Linked DNA regions of Homo sapiens: regions 2 and 3 are each linked to region 1. Evidence: promoter capture Hi-C in human tissues and cell types (Jung and others, 2019). All regions are on one chromosome and are shown on one strand. Each heading gives the region's core, a stretch centred on a gene start or on the middle of the fragment in contact. The rest is flanking DNA. Distances are from core to core; before and after follow the strand shown. Region 1 holds the start of TTR (transthyretin). Region 2 overlaps B4GALT6 (beta-1,4-galactosyltransferase 6). Region 3 overlaps DSG2-AS1 (DSG2 antisense RNA 1).

The links. Contacts are between HindIII fragments. The study calls those that stand out against the background at their distance.
Region 2: a fragment that was not itself captured here is called in contact with the fragment with the promoter of TTR in region 1 in 2 of the 25 tissues and cell types used here (H1 embryonic stem cells and hippocampus).
Region 3: a contact is called between a fragment that was not itself captured here and the fragment with the promoter of TTR in region 1, in 4 of the 25 tissues and cell types used here (aorta, heart left ventricle, hippocampus and 1 more).

Annotation. Positions count from the first base shown.
Region 1 is chr18:31,589,536-31,593,126 of GRCh38, forward strand. TTR (transthyretin) reads left to right here and starts at 2,342. Exons shown (of 4, transcript NM_000371.4): 1 at 2,342-2,436; 2 at 3,361-3,491. The coding sequence starts at 2,368. The HindIII fragment of the contact is 7,126 bases long and covers 281-3,591 here.
Region 2 is chr18:31,626,966-31,630,398 of GRCh38, forward strand. B4GALT6 (beta-1,4-galactosyltransferase 6) reads right to left here. Exons shown (of 9, transcript NM_004775.5): 7 at 34-156. Among named protein-coding and RNA genes, the nearest start is that of TTR, 37 kb to the left of the region's middle. The HindIII fragment of the contact is 8,317 bases long and covers 1-3,433 here.
Region 3 is chr18:31,549,537-31,553,005 of GRCh38, forward strand. It overlaps DSG2-AS1 (DSG2 antisense RNA 1), which reads right to left. Exons shown (of 6, transcript NR_045216.1): 3 at 502-823. Among named protein-coding and RNA genes, the nearest start is that of DSG2-AS1, 5.6 kb to the right of the region's middle. The HindIII fragment of the contact is 3,865 bases long and covers 1-3,469 here.

The DNA of each region.
Region 1 (3,591 bases), core at 1,092-3,591:
GGGAGTCTTGATGTCTGAGAGTGACATTCTGATGATCACTGTCATGTGTAAATGTTGGCCTAAAGCTGCCAATATTTTTGATTTAAGAGAAGCAAGAAATGCAAATTTTTATGCAGCATGTCTCAATTTTTAATTTTGGCAACTATTACAAAATGTTTAAAGAGACTCTGTGCAGCCCAAATATAACATATCTATGGGCTGATGGCAGCCCAGCGTTGCCAGTTCACAGGGTCTACAAGAGATGATTCTTAGTTTCAACAGGGTGCAGTGCTGAAACGCGTGCACAGTAGATTTTGCTTCGGTTATGAAAGAACTTCCAAATATTTATGATTCATAGCCAGAGAAAAGGCTCTCTATCCAGGTTCTGAACAATAGGAAATCATCAAGAGGATATTGGATGACAATATATGAAAGATGTTATTTGAGAAAGGATTCTCTCCTGAGGCATAGATGTTGAACCAAATTCTATTAGTTATGCTTTTACAGCAAGATAGTGGTTTACAGCTTACAAAAGGCTTGTACATCCTCTCATATTAAAAGTTATTAGAACAGTCCTTTGAAGTAGAAAAGTAGGCATTTCTATTTTACAAACGAGTTGGCCGAGTATCTGAGATAGTAGATAACTCATAGAAGGTCATCCGGGAAACGGGGCAGCAGAACTGGGATCGAATGACTCTGGTCATCCAACTCCAAATGCAAAAGTCTTTCTGCTGCTGCTTCCTAGTTAAACTCTAAGGGTCTAAGACTCCATTCCTAGTTATGGTCTCAACTACATTTGCTCATTGCTGTGAGGGGTCAACCCACCTCCCGGAGTCCTCTCCTGCACATTCTCATGTTCCTGAAAGGCTTTTCTGTCCCTTCCACTACTCCCTGTAAGCTCCTGTGCTTCACAATTTCTTGTTGAATTTTTTCTAATCTGACTCTATCAGTTATGGGAATGTTCCCTCAATTCTTAGTGCTCCAAACCGGACTTGCTCTTGGCTTGTATTTGTCCAAAATATTTGTCTTCTCTATGTTTTCTACATGTTTGTCTTATAAGGACAAAAACCTGCCTTAGTTTATCCATGAACAAAGCCACGCATGCTAGTGGACACACACACACATGCGCGTGCGCGCGCACACACACACACACACACATACACACAGAGACTTTGTATGTGAGTAATGAATCATCAAATCATCATAATTTCTGGACTTGTATTAATAAGTCGGCCAGGAGGAAAAGAATCTGCTGTCAATCATGGCTTCTGGTTCTCACAGTCATCTCTACTTTCTTCCAGCAAGTTTGGTTCTGTCAAAAACCAGCTGTCAGCCTTGTTCCTGCATGCCCAATGCAGAAGAGTCAGTAAAGAAGATTTGGTTCTCTGTATTTCAGGGGCATCAATGCCAGGTTGAAATATGCCATTCTGGCCCAGCTCAGTGGCTCACACGTGTAATCCCAGCACTTTGGAAGGCCAAAGCGGGTGGATTGCTTGAGCTCAGGAGTTCGAGACCAGCCTGGGCAAGAGGCTGAGGTGGGAGGATGACCTGAGCCCGGGAGGTCAAGGCTGCAGCGAGCTGTGATCGTGCCACTGCACTCGAGCCAGGGCGTTGGAGTGAGACCCTGTCAAAAAAAAAAAAAAAAAGGAAGGAAAAAAGGAAGGAAGGAAGGGAGGGAGGGAAGATGCCATTCTTAGATTGAAGTGGACTTTATCTGGGCAGAACACACACACACATACACACATGCACACACACATTGTGGAGAAATTGCTGACTAAGCAAAGCTTCCAAATGACTTAGTTTGGCTAAAATGTAGGCTTTTAAAAATGTGAGCACTGCCAAGGGTTTTTCCTTGTTGACCCATGGATCCATCAAGTGCAAACATTTTCTAATGCACTATATTTAAGCCTGTGCAGCTAGATGTCATTCAACATGAAATACATTATTACAACTTGCATCTGTCTAAAATCTTGCATCTAAAATGAGAGACAAAAAATCTATAAAAATGGAAAACATGCATAGAAATATGTGAGGGAGGAAAAAATTACCCCCAAGAATGTTAGTGCACGCAGTCACACAGGGAGAAGACTATTTTTGTTTTGTTTTGATTGTTTTGTTTTGTTTTGGTTGTTTTGTTTTGGTGACCTAACTGGTCAAATGACCTATTAAGAATATTTCATAGAACGAATGTTCCGATGCTCTAATCTCTCTAGACAAGGTTCATATTTGTATGGGTTACTTATTCTCTCTTTGTTGACTAAGTCAATAATCAGAATCAGCAGGTTTGCAGTCAGATTGGCAGGGATAAGCAGCCTAGCTCAGGAGAAGTGAGTATAAAAGCCCCAGGCTGGGAGCAGCCATCACAGAAGTCCACTCATTCTTGGCAGGATGGCTTCTCATCGTCTGCTCCTCCTCTGCCTTGCTGGACTGGTATTTGTGTCTGAGGCTGGCCCTACGGTGAGTGTTTCTGTGACATCCCATTCCTACATTTAAGATTCACGCTAAATGAAGTAGAAGTGACTCCTTCCAGCTTTGCCAACCAGCTTTTATTACTAGGGCAAGGGTACCCAGCATCTATTTTTAATATAATTAATTCAAACTTCAAAAAGAATGAAGTTCCACTGAGCTTACTGAGCTGGGACTTGAACTCTGAGCATTCTACCTCATTGCTTTGGTGCATTAGGTTTGTAATATCTGGTACCTCTGTTTCCTCAGATAGATGATAGAAATAAAGATATGATATTAAGGAAGCTGTTAATACTGAATTTTCAGAAAAGTATCCCTCCATAAAATGTATTTGGGGGACAAACTGCAGGAGATTATATTCTGGCCCTATAGTTATTCAAAACGTATTTATTGATTAATCTTTAAAAGGCTTAGTGAACAATATTCTAGTCAGATATCTAATTCTTAAATCCTCTAGAAGAATTAACTAATACTATAAAATGGGTCTGGATGTAGTTCTGACATTATTTTATAACAACTGGTAAGAGGGAGTGACTATAGCAACAACTAAAATGATCTCAGGAAAACCTGTTTGGCCCTATGTATGGTACATTACATCTTTTCAGTAATTCCACTCAAATGGAGACTTTTAACAAAGCAACTGTTCTCAGGGGACCTATTTTCTCCCTTAAAATTCATTATACACATCCCTGGTTGATAGCAGTGTGTCTGGAGGCAGAAACCATTCTTGCTTTGGAAACAATTACGTCTGTGTTATACTGAGTAGGGAAGCTCATTAATTGTCGACACTTACGTTCCTGATAATGGGATCAGTGTGTAATTCTTGTTTCGCTCCAGATTTCTAATACCACAAAGAATAAATCCTTTCACTCTGATCAATTTTGTTAACTTCTCACGTGTCTTCTCTACACCCAGGGCACCGGTGAATCCAAGTGTCCTCTGATGGTCAAAGTTCTAGATGCTGTCCGAGGCAGTCCTGCCATCAATGTGGCCGTGCATGTGTTCAGAAAGGCTGCTGATGACACCTGGGAGCCATTTGCCTCTGGGTAAGTTGCCAAAGAACCCTCCCACAGGACTTGGTTTTATCTTCCCGTTTGCCCCTCACTTGGTAGAGAGAGGCTCACATCATCTGCTAAAGAATTTACA
Region 2 (3,433 bases), core at 876-3,375, 37 kb after region 1:
TTCTATTAGTGAACAATTTGTACCTCAACATACCTGTTCCAAAGGTCATCATCTTCTCCTCCCCATCCCCAGAAGGCATTAGGAAAACCATTGATCTTTCTAAATTGTTCCACTGTCAGCCCACTTACACCACCAAAAAATTCTTTATATGGAAGACTAGAAAAGAAAGACACAGTATTCTAAAAATAAAATCATAATAATTTCCCATGTGAAATGAAGGTTTCAGCCTTTTATGTGCTTTGCAAAATATGCCCTTATATTCTATATAGACAATTATGTTAGAAAATGTAAAGTACACCAAGACATAAAACATTTTTATATTCTAGTGAAACAAGTACATGTACATGTGTTATGTTAAATGTAAAGCACTTATGGAAACCTAAATTTAATATTTAGTATACAAATAAGACTCAAAATAAAATCTGTAAGGCTCAAAACCCAGTGCCCCCAAATTGTATATTTTCACAGCAAAAGTAAACATGATTAAATATATTTATAATGGTCAATGCATGTCAGATGTTCCTAAACTAGTAACACTGAAAAAATTAACTGAATTATAAACGCATTATTTATTATATAGAGCAGGATAAATATCAATTACAAAAGACAATTCTAGCATTTAATTGTCTAGCTACCTACTTTTATAATGATCTTATCTGTTGGAATTATACTCTCAAAATATTCATGGATATTTACAAATATATTCATTTTCAATGCATTGATATTTACAGAAATAACTATTTTTGTTTGGATTTTATTTTCCTTACCCTTTCCTAACTCATACTCCAAGGAATGTGTCAAACGATGCAATGTTTTTAAACTTTTCTAAACTATATTTTTACTTAGCTAAACTGTGTGTTTAGGTATAGATTGGCTTTCTGACATTTAGGCAGCATCCCTAGACCTGCAATCCTGAATATATTCCCATGGACTGAAACACGCCCCTGGGGAGCAGATGCCAGAGCAGAGAAAACGTGACCATGCACAGCACCCAAAAATCAAGCTGAGGGAAACCTGGCTGCAACCACAGCAAAGCTGTCTCAGAGGAGGGAACTTTTTGTTAGACACTCGCCTCACATTCTGAGAAGGACGTGCTGTTTGCCAGCTGGGGTCTTGTGTGGCACACAGACCAGGGAAGACTGGTTCTTTCATGGAAGCCTAGGGTTGTAGGAGAAAGCAGTCTTGCCCTCATCCTAGGTCAAAGGTACTCCAAGATGGTAACAGCAACACTGATCCTAAAGACAACCATACTCTCCTGAGACCTCTCAAGGCTCACACTTGGGAGCTTAGTGTTCTGGTATTACAGTAAGACTAGCTGGGGGTTCCACAGGGCCAATAAGCATTCTTGGCACCGTGTACTTCCCACATCAGATGGATTATTCTTGCCCAGGCTAGTAGTTTAGGAAAAACCTGAGATCGTCAGATAGGGAAACATGAATAAATGTGTCTGTGTGCTTATTGACATGTATAAATCAGCAAGCCTATCAATTCCATTTATTGCTCTAAGTGGAAATAATCAATTGTGCTATATGAATAATGGAAAGTTATTAGGTAAAATGAAGGTATAACAGATAAACTAAAGAAGAGAAAACAAAACCCAACAAGTCAAACTCTTGCAGTGTTTATCTTACACTGTAAAAGTGGGAGAGACACTACACCTGAGAGTCTGAGTTCTCTGGTCAGCAGTAGTGTGGCCATCACTGTGGGGCAGGGACGCTTCACCAGGCTTCATCCCACAGCTGAAGTCTATGCACTGCCCAGACCAGGCCTTGATCTACTGCCATTCTCCTAGAGCTACATTCTAATTTCTCTACAAACGTCCAAGATGCCTAACCAATCCAGGGACTAGTCTAGATGGATATGAATACAGCTGACGCTTGAACAACACAGGTTTGAGCTGCACAAGTCCACTGATATACAATTTCTTTTTCAATAAAAGTTACATAGAATGTGCCTCTCCTGCCTCCTTTTCCATCTTCAATTCTTTCACCTTGCCACCCTTGAGACCCCAAGACCAATCCCTCCTCTTCCTTAGCCTACTCCACGTGAGGACGATGAGGATGAAGACCTTCAGGATGATCCACTTCCACTTAATGGACAGTAAATATATTTTCCCTCCCTTATGATTTTCTTAATAACATCTTTTCTCTAGCTTACTTTATGGTAAGAATATGGTATACAATACATATAACATACAAAATATGTGTTACTCAATTGTTTATATTATTGGTAAGGCTTTTGGCTAACAGTAGGCTATTAGTAGTTAAGCTTTTGGGGAGTCAAAAGTTATACTAGATTTTCAACTGCATTCCGGTGGCTGGGGGAGGTGGTCACCACTGTAACCCCTGCATTACTCAAGGGTCAACTGTATTTTATTAGAAATTGATATTTTCAAGTTAACAACAAATTATTTAGACAACAAATTCATTTAGAATTTAACAATAAATTAATTTAGAATTCTTAGTTTATATGCCCTTTATGATTTTTTTTTTTTTTTTTTTTTTTTTTTTTTTTTTTTGTGAAAATCGGTTACCCTGGATCTAATGTGATTCTAGCAAACTGACTGAAATCAAGTTTCCAGAAGTGGTAAGAACCAGATTGTTGCCGGGCACGGTGGCTCATGCCTGTAATCCCAGCACTTTGGGAGGCCGAGGCGGGTGGATCACAAGGTCAGGAGATCAAGACTATCTTGGCTAACACAGTGAAACCCCGTCTCTACTAAAAATACAAAAAAATTAGCCAGGCGTGGTGGCAGGCGCCTGTAGTCCCAGCTACTCGGGAAGCTGAGGCAGGAGAATGGCGTGAACCCGGGAGGCAGAGCTTGCAGTGAGCCGAGATCGCACCACTGCACTCCAGCATGGGCGACAAAGCGAGACTCTGTCTCAAAAAAAAAAAAAAAAGAAAAAGAGAACCAGATTGTGAACCTTGATGGCCTTCTTCAAGGTAACCCCATACTCAAAGTTCAGATACAGAGGTAATAAAGAAAAAGGTTTTCTAATGATAACAATGACCAGCAAAAAAAAAGGAAGGAGGAGGAGAAGGATGAGGTGGAGAAGGAGAAGCAGGAAGGAAGGAAGGAAGAGGAAGAAGGGGGGAGGGGGAAGAAGGGGAGCGGAAGCGGGGAGGGGGAAGGAGGGGAGCGGGAGTGGGGAGGAGGAGTGGGGAGGAGGAAGAGGAAGAAGAAGAAAGAAACAAGCATTCTTTTCCTGCTTGTGTCAGACTTTTTGCTTCTCTGTACTCTAGATTAGCACCAGGCAAAACTGTGACACAGGCAACATCTTCCTGCCCTAAGCAACAAACAGATTTTCTCTCTACTCCCATTAGGCCAATGAAAACTGTGATCCTTTTCCCATATTAGACTTGCATTCTTTCATGTCCTTTTAAGTTACTATCTCAGCTCTGATAACTGTTCATTTTAAATTATCTCCAATTA
Region 3 (3,469 bases), core at 430-2,929, 41 kb before region 1:
ATAGACAGAAAATGGAAGTGAGGTAGGGAAGCTGCTTGATTGGTTACAGCTGAGCCTTTGCCTTATTTGGAGGTGGGCTGATCAGTTGGCAGCCAGTGACTGGCTGAAACTCAGCTGCTGTGATTGATTGACGCTCAGCTATGTATTACAAAAATATACTCCTAAATTAGGCTTTCAGTTCATTTATGTACCAAGCTAGGCTGCAGTTCGTCATGTGGGGACTCAAGGTATGGAGGCAGCCTCAGGCCCAGTTTAATTTAATAATATACCAACTTGGGCTAAAACATAGGAAAGGGGATTAGGGGCTTCTGGGCAGGGGAAACAAGTTATGGGAAGGTGACCAGGAAAAGTCTGGTAAGCTTGAGTAAGATTTGTCATGCAGATTTAAATTAATCTCTTTGTCACTTATAGTCATCCCGTGTTTCCGGTACGGAGGGAGACAGCCTTACAAATGGACATTTCCCTTATAAATGTAAATCCCTTTACAAAAGGTAAACTTACGTTCTGTCTTCAGAGTTTCTCCTGCGTCTGCTATTTCTCAAAATAATCAGCTCAAAATAATCCTTATACTAAAAACGTATTTTGGGGGCTGTAGCATATTCTAGTCGACACTGCCGGTAAACTGGAATGTCTCATGAATGAAGATTTCACGACAATGGCACATCAGAACATCCTAAAGCATGAAGACTGGTTTATTCCTGCGTGACTTCAGTTCCCACTCCCAGTGGCACATGGAGCTAATTCTGGTTGATCTCTGCAGACCATATTCCAATCACCACCACATCAAAATGTCTACAGTAGGACGTTGCTAACCAAATATCACCTAAAAATGAGACATTTCAGATCATTAAATCTGACTTTCTTAAAGGACCAAAATTTATTAGTTTCATTATGTTTTATTTTAATCCTCTATATCATTCCCAATTACTTTGTCTACTGTTTCCATTAATTACTAAGAGGTTGAAGTCTCCCAAGTGTGGCTTTGCTTATTTCCCCCTTTAATTCTTTCTATTTTTGTTTCCTGTGTTTTGAAACTTTTTGCCTGTGTTATTAGGTACAAGTACATTTAGGATTACTGTGTTCCTGAAGAACTGATCTTTTTATCATTATGAAATGCCTCTCTTCATCTCTGTTTATAACTGCTAATTACCTTTAGCCTAAAGCTGCCTCCTTACATTCTTTTCCTTTTTTTTTTTTTTTTTTTTTGAGACGGAGTTTCAAGTGAGTGAAATGGCGCAAACTCGGCTCACCACAACCTCCGCCTCCCAGGTTCAAATGATTCTCCTGCCTCACCCTCCCAAGTAGCTGGGGTTACAGGCATGCGCCACCACGCCCAGCTAATTTTGTATTTTTAATAGAGACGGGGTTTCTCCATATTGGTCAGGCAGGTCTCAAACTCCCGACCTCGGGTGATCCGCCTGCCTTGGCCTCCCAAAGTGCTGGGATTACAGGCGTGAATTACCACACCTGGCCCTTGTTACATATTTTAAGTTTGGCCTGAAGGTTTCTCCATACTTAGTGAACTATAACCTAACTGGATGTGTAAACAGACTGTAACCTACTCTTGTCTGAGGCAATCACGGCCGCAATACTTCAACCACTCACAGGCAGCCAACTGTTCAAACTGCATTCAAATAAGGCAAACCCTGAGCTGTAACCAGTCCTGCTATTCTGTACCTCACTTCCTTTTTCTATCCATAAATCCTCTCTGACCACGTGGCAGCACCAGCGTGGCTCTGAATCTACTCCGGTTTAGGTACTGCCCAATTTGCAAATTATTCTTTGCTCAATTAAAGTTTGTAAAATTTGTTTATATATTTATTTATTTTATTATTTTGGAGATGGAGTCTCACTCTGTCACCCAGGCTGGAGCGCAGTGGCAGAATCTCCGCTCACTGCAACCTCCGCCTCCCAGGGTCAAGTGATTCTCCTCAGCCTCCTGAGTAGCTGGGCTGGGATTACAGGTGTACGCCACCACACCAGGCTAATTTTTGCATTTTTTTTTTTTTTTTTTTTTTTAGTAGAGATGGGGTTTCCCCATGTTGCCCAGGCTGGTCTCGAACTCCTGGCCTCAAGTGATCCACCAGCCTCAGCCTCCTAAACTGCTGGGATTACAGGCGTGAGCCACCACACCCAGCCAACTTTGTAAAATTTAATTTGCCTGAAGTTTTTCTTCTAACACATTCTTTGTCTTGAAATCTACCTTGCCTAACATTAATACAGCCATACCAGCCTTCTTATGGTTAGTGCTTCCGTGGTATATCTTTTTGATCCTTTTGCTTGACACCTGTCTGTGCCTTTATAGTACATTTATTGTAAACAATATACAGGTAGGTCTTGGCTTTTCCCATTTTGACAATTTCTGACTTTTATCAGAAGGTTTTACAACAATTATTTATATGGATAAGTTTAAGCTTCCATCTTTGTATTTGTTTTATCTTTGTCCACCTGGGTTTTCTGTTGGTTTTTTGGTTTTCTCCACTCTTGTTTCCTGACTTCTTTTGTGTACTGCATGCTTTAGGATTCCACTGTAGCACCTCTGTTGACCTTTCACCTACACCCGCTTGTGTTTACTTTTTAATTGGTTGCTCTTACTGAGGAAATATAACTAACAACAAAATTTCCTCTCAACCTAAAAAACCTTTCCACAAAGTAAAGGAGAAAGAAAACAGTGTCATCATTGAATAAGCATTAAACCCTGAAGGTGAGGCACATCACAGGTAGCTCCTAAAGAAACTGCGGGCCGGGCACAGGGGCTCACGCCTGTAATCCCAGCACTTTGGGAAGCCGAGGCGGGCAGATCACAAGGTCAGGAGATCAAGACCATCCTGGCTAACATGGTGAAACCCCGTCTCTACTAAAAATACAAAAAATTAGCCGGGCATGGTGGCGGGCACCTGTAGTCCCAGCTACTCGGGAGAATTGCTTGAACCTGGGAGGCAGAGCTTGCAGTGAGCCGAGAGCACACCACTGCACTCCAGCCTGGACAACAGTGCGAGACTCTGTCTAAAAAAAAAAAAGAGAGAGAGAGAAAAGAAACCACAGGCTGGGCACAGTGGCTCATGCTTTTAATCCCAACAGTTTGGGAGGCCAAGGCGGGCGGATCACCTGAGGTCAGGAGTTCGAGACCAGTCTGACCAGAGAAACCCCATCTCTACTAAAAATAAAAAACTTAGCTGGGCAGATGGCAGGTGCCTGTAATCCCAACTACTCAGGAGGCCGAGGCAGGAGAATCGCTTGAACCGGGAGGTGGAGTTTGCGGTGAACTGAGATCGCGCCATTGCACTCCAGCCTGGCAATAAGAGTGAAACTCCATCTCACAAAAGAAGAAAAAAAAGAAATTGCAAAGACAAAAAGTTCTTGCTTTTTATGCAGCCATTTAGAACATACCTGTTCACAAGATAAACTATAGCTTGTCCTCAAGTCAGAGGATTTGACAGCACCGTTTGTCATACATAGCTCATCTTAA